Regions from separate parts of the Homo sapiens genome. Here regions 1 and 2 are each linked to region 3. Evidence: promoter capture Hi-C in 16 types of primary human blood cells and fetal thymus (Javierre and others, 2016). All regions are on one chromosome and are shown on one strand. The core of a region is centred on a gene start or on the middle of the fragment in contact, and the rest is flanking DNA. Distances in the headings are between cores, read along the strand shown.

Region 1 (3,384 bases), core at 860-3,359, 130 kb before region 3:
GACGGTGGGGCGTGAGCAGGCACACGGAGCCAGGCAGGTGAGGTAAGCCGGGCAGGCGGCCGGGCGGACAGGTGGACGCGCCTCCTCTGCCCATTGTTCTCGCGGCTGCGGCCCTGCCCTCGGCCCACCCCACCCTCGAGTGCAAGCCCACACGCAGCGCCCGCACCCTCACCCTCAGACCCTCTCCGGGTGTCCCGAGGAAGGGTCAGGGGAAGAGACAAAGGGAGCAGGGTGAGGCAGGATGAATCCTGACGGACCTCGGACCCCAAAACCGCCCCGGTGGGTCTTCCACGTCAGGTTTCACATGGAGGCGGCATCAAAGACCCCCGACTGATCCAGGCCGGCGTCCCGGCCGCCACTCCAAGGTTAGGAGACAAGCCATGTCAAGTCGGTGCCGTTTAAGCAGCATTTTTTCGAGGAGAAAAAAAAAAAAGAAACAGAAGCGATATAAAGAAAAAAAATGTCCACCTATGACACGGGAAGCGGCCAGCCCGATGGATCAGAAGCGCCAAATCCCATTACTCGGGACTTCAGGGACAGGCCCTGCAAGGGCAGCTGCGATTAAGAGCTTGTCAATGGACTCTCCTTTAGAGATCAAAGCGGGGCGTGCTTGTGTGTGTGTGCGTGTGCACGTGTGTGCGCGTGCACGCGTGTACGTGCAGGAGCGGACACTGTGGGGTGACAGCACAGAGGTCGTGCACCGCAGCACCACGGGGCCCATACGTCGCCGACGCGGCCACCTCCACACTGCTTGCGTCCTTGCTGCCGTGTGCGACGTGTGTGGACGCGGCTGGGGGCCTGGGCCGGGTACCTGGTCCCAACACCTGCACCCTTTCAAAGGCCTCCACCTCCTGCTAGAGGCCGTGCCTTCCCCAGGTTCTGCCCAGAGGAGCCCGCAGGGGCCGAGCTGGGTGTGAGGACAGCCGTGGCTGCGTCTCCTCCCCCCGACCACGTCCTGCTGCCCACAGAGGCCTTGAGCTCTCAGTTGGCCTGGCAGGCGCGCCCTGGGGGTTCAAAGCTCCCGTTGACACGATTGTTAGGTTATTAGGTAAACTCTGAGACGTAAATCTTTTAATCCACTGTGGCTAATCCGGTTCACTTTTGTTTGCCACGACAGACGCCGCGGCGACAAAGGGGCCTGGGGCCCAGCACACACAGTCACACGCTCAGAACTTGGCCGCGGCCTCAGGGTTCCTAGGCAGTGGAGAGAGACATCTTGGGACAGCCAAGCAGAGGGAGGCGGCGGAGGGCACAGGTGGGCGGGGGCGCAGGTGGGCCGGGGCAAAGGCAGCTGCCCGCTGGGGGCCGCACTTCCTCACCTCCCATTTAATGTCCCCTTGCCAGCTCGAGGGGGAACCGCTGGGCACTGGGGTGTGCAGGTATCGGGGCCGCTGGGGATAGTGGGCAGAAGGACAGATGAGCACCAACGGGGGGGCGGCAGCGCCCGGAGAGGCGTGTGGGATGGAGGCCGTCAGGGCAGGGAAGGGCGTTCAGGTGAGGGAACAGCAGGGACAAGGACTGTGGTCGGTGTGGCAGGGGCAGGAGTCCCCCCAACAAGGACAGGAAGCGGCCTGAGGCTGCCCAGGGAGGTGGGACGTCACCTGCTACTTCCCGAAGTCAGCGCGAGGCCCCTCGGGGCATGGCCCCTGCACTTGGATGCCACCTCTTTTTGGGAAAACAGCACTGAGGTTGGGGGAGGCCAGCAGGCCCTGCCCTGTGCTCACAATGTGCCTGGGACACCAGACCTGGTCCATGGCCAGCCGTGGGCTCCATCCCGCCACCCGGCCTGTCAGAGAGGGTCACACACGGACCTCTGGGGCTGTGAGGCCAGGTCAGGACGATCACTTTGCCCAGGGGGACACTGGCACAAGGAGGTGCCTGCTTTGCCTAGGGCTACAGGCTGGCCCAAGACAAGGATGGGCACTCAGGTCTCCTGGGAGGCAGGTGCCAGGCCAGGCCCAACAGTCCCCTGATGTCAGCAGCTCCCGAGTTGGGAAGTGGTGGCCGCCCTCCCCTCCTACTTCCCCAGCCCCTGCGGCCGGACCCTCCAGGCAGGCCTACTTGACCACATCCTGGTATCCACCTGGCCCCAGTCCCAGCCCCTGGACACCCTGGGGTCAGAACTCTTCAGAAAGGCAGTGCAGGAGGACTCCCCTCAGGACACTGGGAGGTGTGGACAGTACCCTGGGATGGAGGGGACCGCCTCTGGGCCGCCTGGCTGGCCAGGCCCCCGCCCTGTTGCCAGTGCTTTCCTGTTGGCCTTGGCGTCCTGACCCTTGACCCCTGGAGGCCAGCGGGGATGTGGGGACTGTCAGGTCTGCTGGACGGGGCTGGGCGCAGGCGACGTGGGTGACGGCAGGTCTGGGGCCTGCCCCAGGGGACAAGTATGGACCCGGAGCCAGCGGGGACCAAGCACTGTGGCCACAGCAGCCGTTTCATTTCTTTTTCTTTTTTTTTTTTTTTTTTGAGATGGAGTCTCACTCTGTTGCCCAGGCTGGAGTGCCTTGGCACAATCTTGGCTCACTGCAACCTCTGTCTCCTGGGTTCAAGTGATTCTCCTGCCCCAACCTCCCCAGTAGCCGAGATTACAGGGGCCTGCCACCATACCTGGCTAATTTTTTGCATTTTTAGTAGAGATGGGGTTTCACCACGTTGGCCAGGCTGGTCTCGAGCTCCTGACCTGAGGTGATACGCCCACCTTGGCCTCCCAAAGTGCTAAAATTACAGGCGTGAACCACTGTGCCTGGCCTAATTTTTGTATTTTTAGTAGAGACGGGGTTTCACCATGTTGGCCAGGCTGGTCTCGAACTCTTGACCTCAGGTGATCCACCCGCCTCAGCCTCCCAAAGTGCTGGGATTACAGGTGTGAGCCACCGAGCCTGGCCACACACAGCACCCGTTTCTTTGGGCCCCTGCCCCGCAGCGGCTGAGTGGTTCACCCTCCACCTCTCTGTGGGTGGGTCCTCCTGACCACAGGTGCCCAGCCAATGGTGGGTCCCGGGGGCAGAGGCCGTCAGGTCATCCATGGCCATGGTGACAGTCACACTGACCTGATATTGGAGCCAGGGCATATGAGGTAGGGCCCTGCTCCCCTTCCCCCAGGCCTCTGCCTTTTGTGGGGACCAGGATCACTCCTGGGGCATCTGCCCTGCGGAGGCAGCTTTGGCTACAGAGCTATGTGGACCACTCCAAATAGGAAGCGTGTTGCAACATAGTTGGATGACACACCTGCCCGACAGGTGTGAGGGGGAGAGGAGGAAGGACCTATCTAGGGGCACATCAGTGCTAAGGGGGCTGCCAGATGTGGAGGCCGGGGAGGCCCCAGCCCAAAGTGACACCAACAGCTGGGATGGCCCAGGAAGCCCCTGGCAGGGTGTGTCTCTC
Region 2 (3,306 bases), core at 734-3,233, 200 kb before region 3:
ATCTCAATTGTGTACTTTTATAGACAGTCACCTGTGTGTCTATGTCTGTGTTAAAAAAGGTCTGGGCCAGGTGCGGTGGCTCACATCTGTAATCCCAACACTTTGGGAGGCTGAGGCAGGTGGATCACTTGAGGTCTGGTGTTCGAGACCAGCCTAGTCAACACGGCGAAACCCCGTCTCTACTAAAAATATAAAAATTAGCCAGGCGTTGCACGCCTGTAGTCCAAGCTACTCAGGAGACTCAGGCAAGACAATCGCTTGAACCCACGTGGTGGAGGTTGCAGTGAACTGAGATTGTGCCACTGCACTCCAGCATGGGCAAGAGAGCAAGACTCTATTTCAAAAAAAAAAAAAAAGTCTGAAAAGAAATGTAGTAAAATAATGGGAATGTTATTTTTCTCAGGATAGTGGGATTATTGGTCATTTTCTGTTTTATACAACCCAAGCTTCATTTGCCTTTCAGCAATTCAGTCAGCATGTAGACCCAGAATACATACACTCACCTGCTCACACACATACATAATATGCCACTTACACACAAATATCCCACTCCCACATACACACATCCCTGATCCTGCAGACACATGCTCCCACACATCTCACCGCACACACATATTACACACACACACACCAGCTCACATATGTAACTGCTCACACACACACATGCTCACTCTCATTCACACACACTTTCACTCAAATTCAAGGCTAAGAGACTGGAAATGATACAGGGCAAATAAAAGGCGATGCCAGGCTGGGCGCTACGGCTCATGCCTGCAATCCCAGAACTTTGAGAGGCTGAGGCCCGAGGACGGTCGCTTGAGCCTGGGAGTTCAATAATATGCCTGGGCAGTATCACTATACTATACTTCATCTCTACAAAAATAATTTTTAAAAATGTTTGTATTTTTAGTAGAGACGGGGTTTCACCGTCTCCTGACCTCATGATCTGCCCGCCTCAGCCTCCCAAAATGCTGGGATTACAGGCGTGAGCCACTGCACCCAGCCAATTTTTTTAAATTAGCGGAGCATGGTCATGCCTGCCTATAGTCCCAGCTACTCAGGAGGCTAAGATGAGAGGACTGCTTGAGCCCAGGAGGTGGAGGTTGCAGTGAGCTGAGATCTTGCCACTGCACTTCAGACTGGGTGACAGAGTGAGATCCTGTCTCAAAACAAACGAACAAAAAGGTGCAGTCAAATGTCCCTAGGAACTTCCTACTGCCACCATTAGCGGTGCAGGAATAAAAAAACGTAGGGAGATCTGAGCATCGACACTTCCTTCGGCAGCCTATTTCTGCAAGTACTGAAGACAGACAATGCCTACCAAGGTTACTGAAGGACATTCTCTGAAAAGAATCAGTGGCTATTAAAACGCAACTGCTTAAGTGACTGTAAAAATAACATGTAAATTACAGTTATAATCTTTAAAAACAAAACAAAATTAAAGTAATCCTTTCTCACAACACTCTTAGAATTTATTTTACAATCTCTGCTTCATGATAGGTGGCAGTAAATACAAAAGCATCAGTCCTCTCAGTATGAAGGGGTCATGTCAATCTCCAGAGATGGTTGAAGCCTTAAAAATCACCTATTCCAACTTCATACCTAATTCCTGGACACATCTGACTATAAATTCCTGTTTCAAAAAAATATAACCAGAAAGCTCCACTTGCTCCTTTCATGTGCTGATTTCTGCTAACACAACACTGTGTTATATTACACTACACCTGATCTATCACCAGATGACGTAATTAGATCCAAACACACCATGACATTGCTAAAGAAACAGGGACACAAAAGCCATCTGTATTATAAACAGGAGCTGCTTCTATTAAAAATTCAGATAATCCATTTAAATAATTTAAAATGCTACCTTCATAAACAGATTACATAGAAGATACTCAATATGCTACCTCTGAAAATTTGATAAAAATTAAGATACTTGGCCGGGCACAGTGGCTCATGCCTGTAATCCCAGCACTTTGGGAGGCCGAGGCGGGTGGATCACCTGAGGTCAAGAGTTCAAGACCAGCCTGGCCAACATGGCAAAACCGTCTCTACTAAAAATACAAAAAATAGCCAGGTGTGGTGACGGGCACCGGTAATCCCAGCTACTCGGGAGGCTGAAGCAGGAGAATCGCTTGAACCCGGGAGGCAGAGGTTGCAGTGAGCCGAGATCACACCATTGCACTCCAGCCTGGGCGACAGAGCAGGCGAGACTCCATCTCAAAAAAAAAAAAAAATTAAGATAATCTAGTTGTTATCATCAAGGACAGTAATGTGACTGGACTAAGAGTCTCTCATGTGCTCAATATTTTGAAATCTCAAGGTAGAAAGTACAAAAACTTATGACCTTTATTGCTGTTATCCAGTTAATCTGAACTGTTCCCTAGCGTTTTTAAAAAAATCATTAATGTCTTTAAAAGAATCGGTATCTTTTGGAAATATATACTGAAGCATTTATGGAAGAAATGATATAATGTCAGGAACCCACTTCAAAAATCATCTGGGGGTAGTGAGTGGTGAGTTTACAGATGAACCAAGACTGCTAAAACTGAGCAATGGCTACAGGGTTACATAACATGAAAATCAACCTTTCTTTACCCTGTAAATTATCTGTTGCCAAACAGTAACTTAGCTTTAAGAAATCAAGAGCTCTCCTCCATCCCAGGAAGCCGGCCCAAGTCCAGGCACTCAGATCACACCCAACATTGCTTCTTCCTAAGCCGTCTAGAAGAACAGACAAGGAGTAATACCACAGGAGATCCCTTCCACTTCCCCATCCTCACCAAATCCCAAGTCATCCAGCCCTTGCCCCCAACCTTCGAATTTCATCAAGAGCTCTTGGAATTCAGAGTGAAGAATTTTGTCTCATTTCTACTTTGTGATGACAAGAAAGCTCAGCCCCAAATAGCAACACAAAGTTTTTCCCATTGTGATCATTAAGGGAGGTTATGACAAAAGATGTTTCTCAAATAAAAAGAATTGTATGAAAGTCAGTAAGATATTATCACAATAGGGATATTGTGAGCCACCACATCTAAGAAGAGGCATCTAAGGTCTAAGGGCCAAAAGACCTAGTTCTACTCCTGTGAGACCTTGGGAGAGCTATCTGACCTTTCTGGGTTTCCAGTTTCTTACCTGTAAAGTGGGGATGAATCCTGCTTACCTACTATCTCAGAGAACTGTGGTATGATCCAGTGGAAACATCCTGAGCCTCACAGAAGTTCTCTATCAAGAGTTGGGTTATGGTAACAAGGAGCAAATGTGGTACTCTCCTAACTTCTTTGCTGTACTGAAGCAAGAGTA
Region 3 (3,751 bases), core at 866-3,365:
GGTCATCCTATACGTGTGGTACACGTACAAATATGACATAAGAAGAAGTATGAATTATTGCAGTCATTATTAAACAACGAAGTATGCCAAATTAGTCATCAGGTTTCAAAGAATCATAGCCTTCTTTCCATAGGTCCCGCCACGTTTTAAGGAAACGTGCCTTTTCTGTACATTTGAAGGCAAGTTCTTCCACTTGAGCTGATACTGCAGATGTGGCTTCAAGAAGTTTGGTTAATGAAAAGGCTGCGTCTCCGATCTGCAGCCCCACTTCCTCCAGCGGGTCCACCGTTCGGCCGCTGCTCCTGCTCGGAACTGGCCAGCCCAAACTCACTGGGCTGCCAGGGTAAGATGCTGCAGAGGCGTCTGAAGAGGAGGGAGAAGGAGGCGGCGGGGGCGGCGAAGAAACCTGCAACTTCTCAGGGTCGGCCATGGGGAAGGGCTGGCACCGCGGAATCCGACCCGAGCAGCCCAACGGACACCCTATTTATTTATTTTAAATAGAGAGCAGGGGCCTGGCGTTCTGGCTCACAGCTGTAATCCGAGGACTTTGGGAGGCTGAGGTGGGCGGATCACCTGAGGTTAGGAGTTTAAGACCAGCCTGGCCAACATGGCGGAACCCCGTCTCTGCAAAAGTACAAAAAAAAAGTTAGTCGGGAATGATGGCGGGTGCCTGTAATCCCAGCTACTGGGGAGACTGAGACAAGAGAATCGCTTGAACCCAGGAGTCAGAGGATGCAGGAAGCCGAGATCGCGCCACTGCACTCCAGGCTGGGCGACAGAGGGAGACTCCGTCTCAAAAATAAATAAAATACGGCAGGGCGCGGTGGCTCACGCCTGTAATCTCAGCACTTTGGGAGGCCGAGGCAGGCAGATCACAAGGTCAGAAGTTCAAGACCAGCCTGGCCAATACGGTACAACACCGTGTCTACCGAAAATACAAAAATCAGCTGGGCATGGTGGCTGGCTACTTGAGGTCAAGACTTTGAGACCAGCCTGGCCAGCATGGTGAAACCCCGTCTCTACTTAACATTCAAAAATTAGCCGGAGGGGGTGGCGGGCGCCTGAAATTCCAGCTACTGGGGAGACTGAGGCAGGAGAATCGCTTCAACCCGGGAGGCGGAGCTTACAGTGAGCCGAGATCGCGCCACAGCATTCCAGCCTGGGTGACAGAGCAAGACTCCGTCTCAAAAAAAAAATAAACAAATAAAAAATAAAGACCGGGCGTGGTGGCTCATGCCTGTAATCCCAGCACTTTGGGAGGTTGAGGCAGGAGAATCGCTTGAACCCAGGAGGCGGAGGTTGCGGAGAGCCAAGATCGCGCCATTGCACTCTAGCCTGGGCGAAACTCCGTCTCAAAAATAAATAAATAAATAATAGAGGTTTAATATAATAGAAGTATATGCCAGACTATGCACACATAAGTGCATGCTATAATTCTATTATCACATAAAATAACTGCTTACATATGCCTTTTCTTTAGTCCCTGGGACAGTAGACCATGAGCTCACAAAAGGACGACCACGAGGTTGTAATCATAGAACCTAATATTAATGCCATGACTGATGGCCAAACGTGGTGGTTCACACCAGTAATCCCAATACTTTGCCGGGCTGAGGCGGGAGGATAAGGAGCCGGGGAGGTCGAGGCTGCAGTGAGCGGTAATCGCGCCACTGCATTCCAGCCTGGGCGACGGAGCAAGACCCTCGCTCTAAATAAATAAATAAATAAATAAATAAAATTCCATGCTTTATTTAACTTTCACAAAAATCATATGAGGGGCACCTTTAGAACCCTCATTTCACAGATTTAAAAAAACGAGCGTCGGGGAGCTAAATAATATGCTCACGGTTTCATGGCTAGCTTAGAAAAAGCACGGATTCATCTTGTTTTTGATTGACTGTATTTCATTTTATTGTAGTTTACCCTCCGTAGAGACTCGTTTGAGGTCCTGGGGGTCTAGAGTAAAATCAGGGTTGGGATTTTGGTTCCGCCGTTGGACAACTTGCGACCACTCAGAGCCTCAGCCTCCCTAAGCACCCACCCCAGAAACTACATTTCCCAGCAGGGCGTGCGCCGGCGCCGTCGTACTTCCTCCCGGCGTCCCCCGCGGCGGGAAAGAGCCGAGTGGGCTCGAGGCCGACGCGACCATCGTTTGTCGACGCCGCTGCCACCGCCTGCCTGAGAGAAGTCGTCGCGGCCGACCCCGTCGCCTCCGCCGGCTACCATGTCCGCCCAGGCGCAGATGCGGGCCCTGCTGGACCAGCTCATGGGCACGGCTCGGGACGGTGAGTCAGAGCGGCCAACCAGGCGAGGGTCTGGGGTGGGAGTGAGGCGAGGCCGCCGGGCGGCCTGAGGCGGGGGCCGCGATCGTCTGCGCCTGCGCCTGCGCGGGGCATCGCTCCTCCTCCCCCGCGCTCCGACCGCAGGCGCCGGGCCTTTGTCTAAGCCGGTGCGTCTCTGAGGCGGCCGTGGGTCCAGGTCGGGCTCCTCTCTCGGAGTCTGCGCCATGGATGGGGCTTCAGCCTCCTTCCTATGTACCGTCCTGCTACTTCCTCCCCGGCGGGCGCCGCGGCTCCGTGCCCCTCCGCGAACTGTGGAGTCGGCGGAGGGCTGGAATCAGCGTGGGCTCCAGGTCGCTGGCAGCCGGGTGGCAGAACTCTTCCGAGGCTCCTTGGGAAGAAGCTACACCCGAGGGAGCCGGATGGGCCTCGAAAACCTGGCCCGCTCTGGTTCTGTACCATTGCAAGGGGAACCGTAAACTGAGCTTTTCTAACGTGGGTTTCTGCCAAGTACTTTTCCAGCTGCCCCCTTCCCCCCAGCACACAGGAGAGCCTCTGTGTAGCCAGCGCTTGACAGTCGTTAGGTAGGTTGTACTGTGTAGGGAGGAGCTCAAGATCATGATGGTTGTCACAGGAGAAAGCGGTTGCATCTTTGCAAAACTATATACCTGCTGTGGTTTGTGTTTTCTTTTCTGCTGAGTAATGAAGTTGTAAGTTCACACTGGCACATTCTCAGGGCTGTGCAGATTATTTGCACTTTATTTCATAGGTGAATAAGTGCTTTTTAGCTTTCTTTGTATATTGAGTTGCTTTTGAATTGCTTCCCATATTTTTATTTCATACAAACTGAACAATTGTGGCCCCTCTATTTTATTTATAAAGGTTCAGTGTATCTTTGCCTGCCTACATCAATCTGCAAGGGAGTTGCAGAAAGCCTCATGTTCATCGAGCCGTGAGTCACAACCAATTTCTAAGCTGTTATAACAAAAAAGTGTTTGCTTTTTTTCACAAGTAACTTTAAAAGTGTAGTTTAGAAAGAAAACATTTTCAATAAAAAGACACTACATTAATCCTGGATGCTTGCAAATCCTAAAATATATTCCTCCTCTAGCGTTGCACAGCTCTGTGTTGTATACACAGACTAGCTTTAAAATTTGTCACATACCACTTTACCTTTACTTTTATGTATCATTCCCCCGACTTCCTTACTGCAGGTGTGGGCAAGAAAACTTTTCCTTTAACACTTTTCAACAGCGGGCATAAAATTCTGCAGCTGAGGTCTTGAAGAATGCAGATGGGTACAGTATGTGTTGGAGCTCACAGTGTGTATTGACTAACCTAGTTCCTTTTTTGCTTTTTTTGGTATTGTCTTGTTAAAAGTGACTCCCAGGTAGCAACTCTCTTTTTTAAGGGTGGGAACGAAAGGGACGTAGGAAGAATAGATCTAGATTATTTAACAGTCTTCGATAGAG

The links. Contacts are between HindIII fragments. The CHiCAGO score rates a contact against its expected background, and 5 or more counts as called.
Region 1: a fragment that was not itself captured here is called in contact with the fragment with the promoter of LUC7L in region 3 in 15 of 17 cell types (naive CD4 T cells, total CD8 T cells, naive CD8 T cells and 12 more); the score reaches 19.9 in naive CD4 T cells.
Region 2: a fragment that was not itself captured here is called in contact with the fragment with the promoter of LUC7L in region 3 in 2 of 17 cell types (naive CD4 T cells and neutrophils); the score reaches 5.4 in naive CD4 T cells.

Annotation. Positions count from the first base shown.
Region 1 is chr16:358,072-361,455 of GRCh38, reverse strand. No RefSeq gene overlaps it. Among named protein-coding and RNA genes, the nearest start is that of AXIN1, 7.0 kb to the right of the region's middle. RefSeq lists an enhancer at 1-582. The HindIII fragment of the contact is 6,075 bases long and covers 1-3,384 here.
Region 2 is chr16:428,433-431,738 of GRCh38, reverse strand. The region is part of intron 1 of RAB11FIP3 (RAB11 family interacting protein 3); the gene reads right to left. Among named protein-coding and RNA genes, the nearest start is that of RAB11FIP3, 4.4 kb to the right of the region's middle. The HindIII fragment of the contact is 3,069 bases long and covers 449-3,306 here.
Region 3 is chr16:227,813-231,563 of GRCh38, reverse strand. LUC7L (LUC7 like) reads left to right here and starts at 2,115. Exons shown (of 10, transcript NM_201412.3): 1 at 2,115-2,285. The coding sequence starts at 2,225. It also overlaps the pseudogene C4orf46P1. RefSeq lists an enhancer at 1,743-2,439 and a silencer at 2,272-2,501. The HindIII fragment of the contact is 7,539 bases long and covers 1-3,751 here.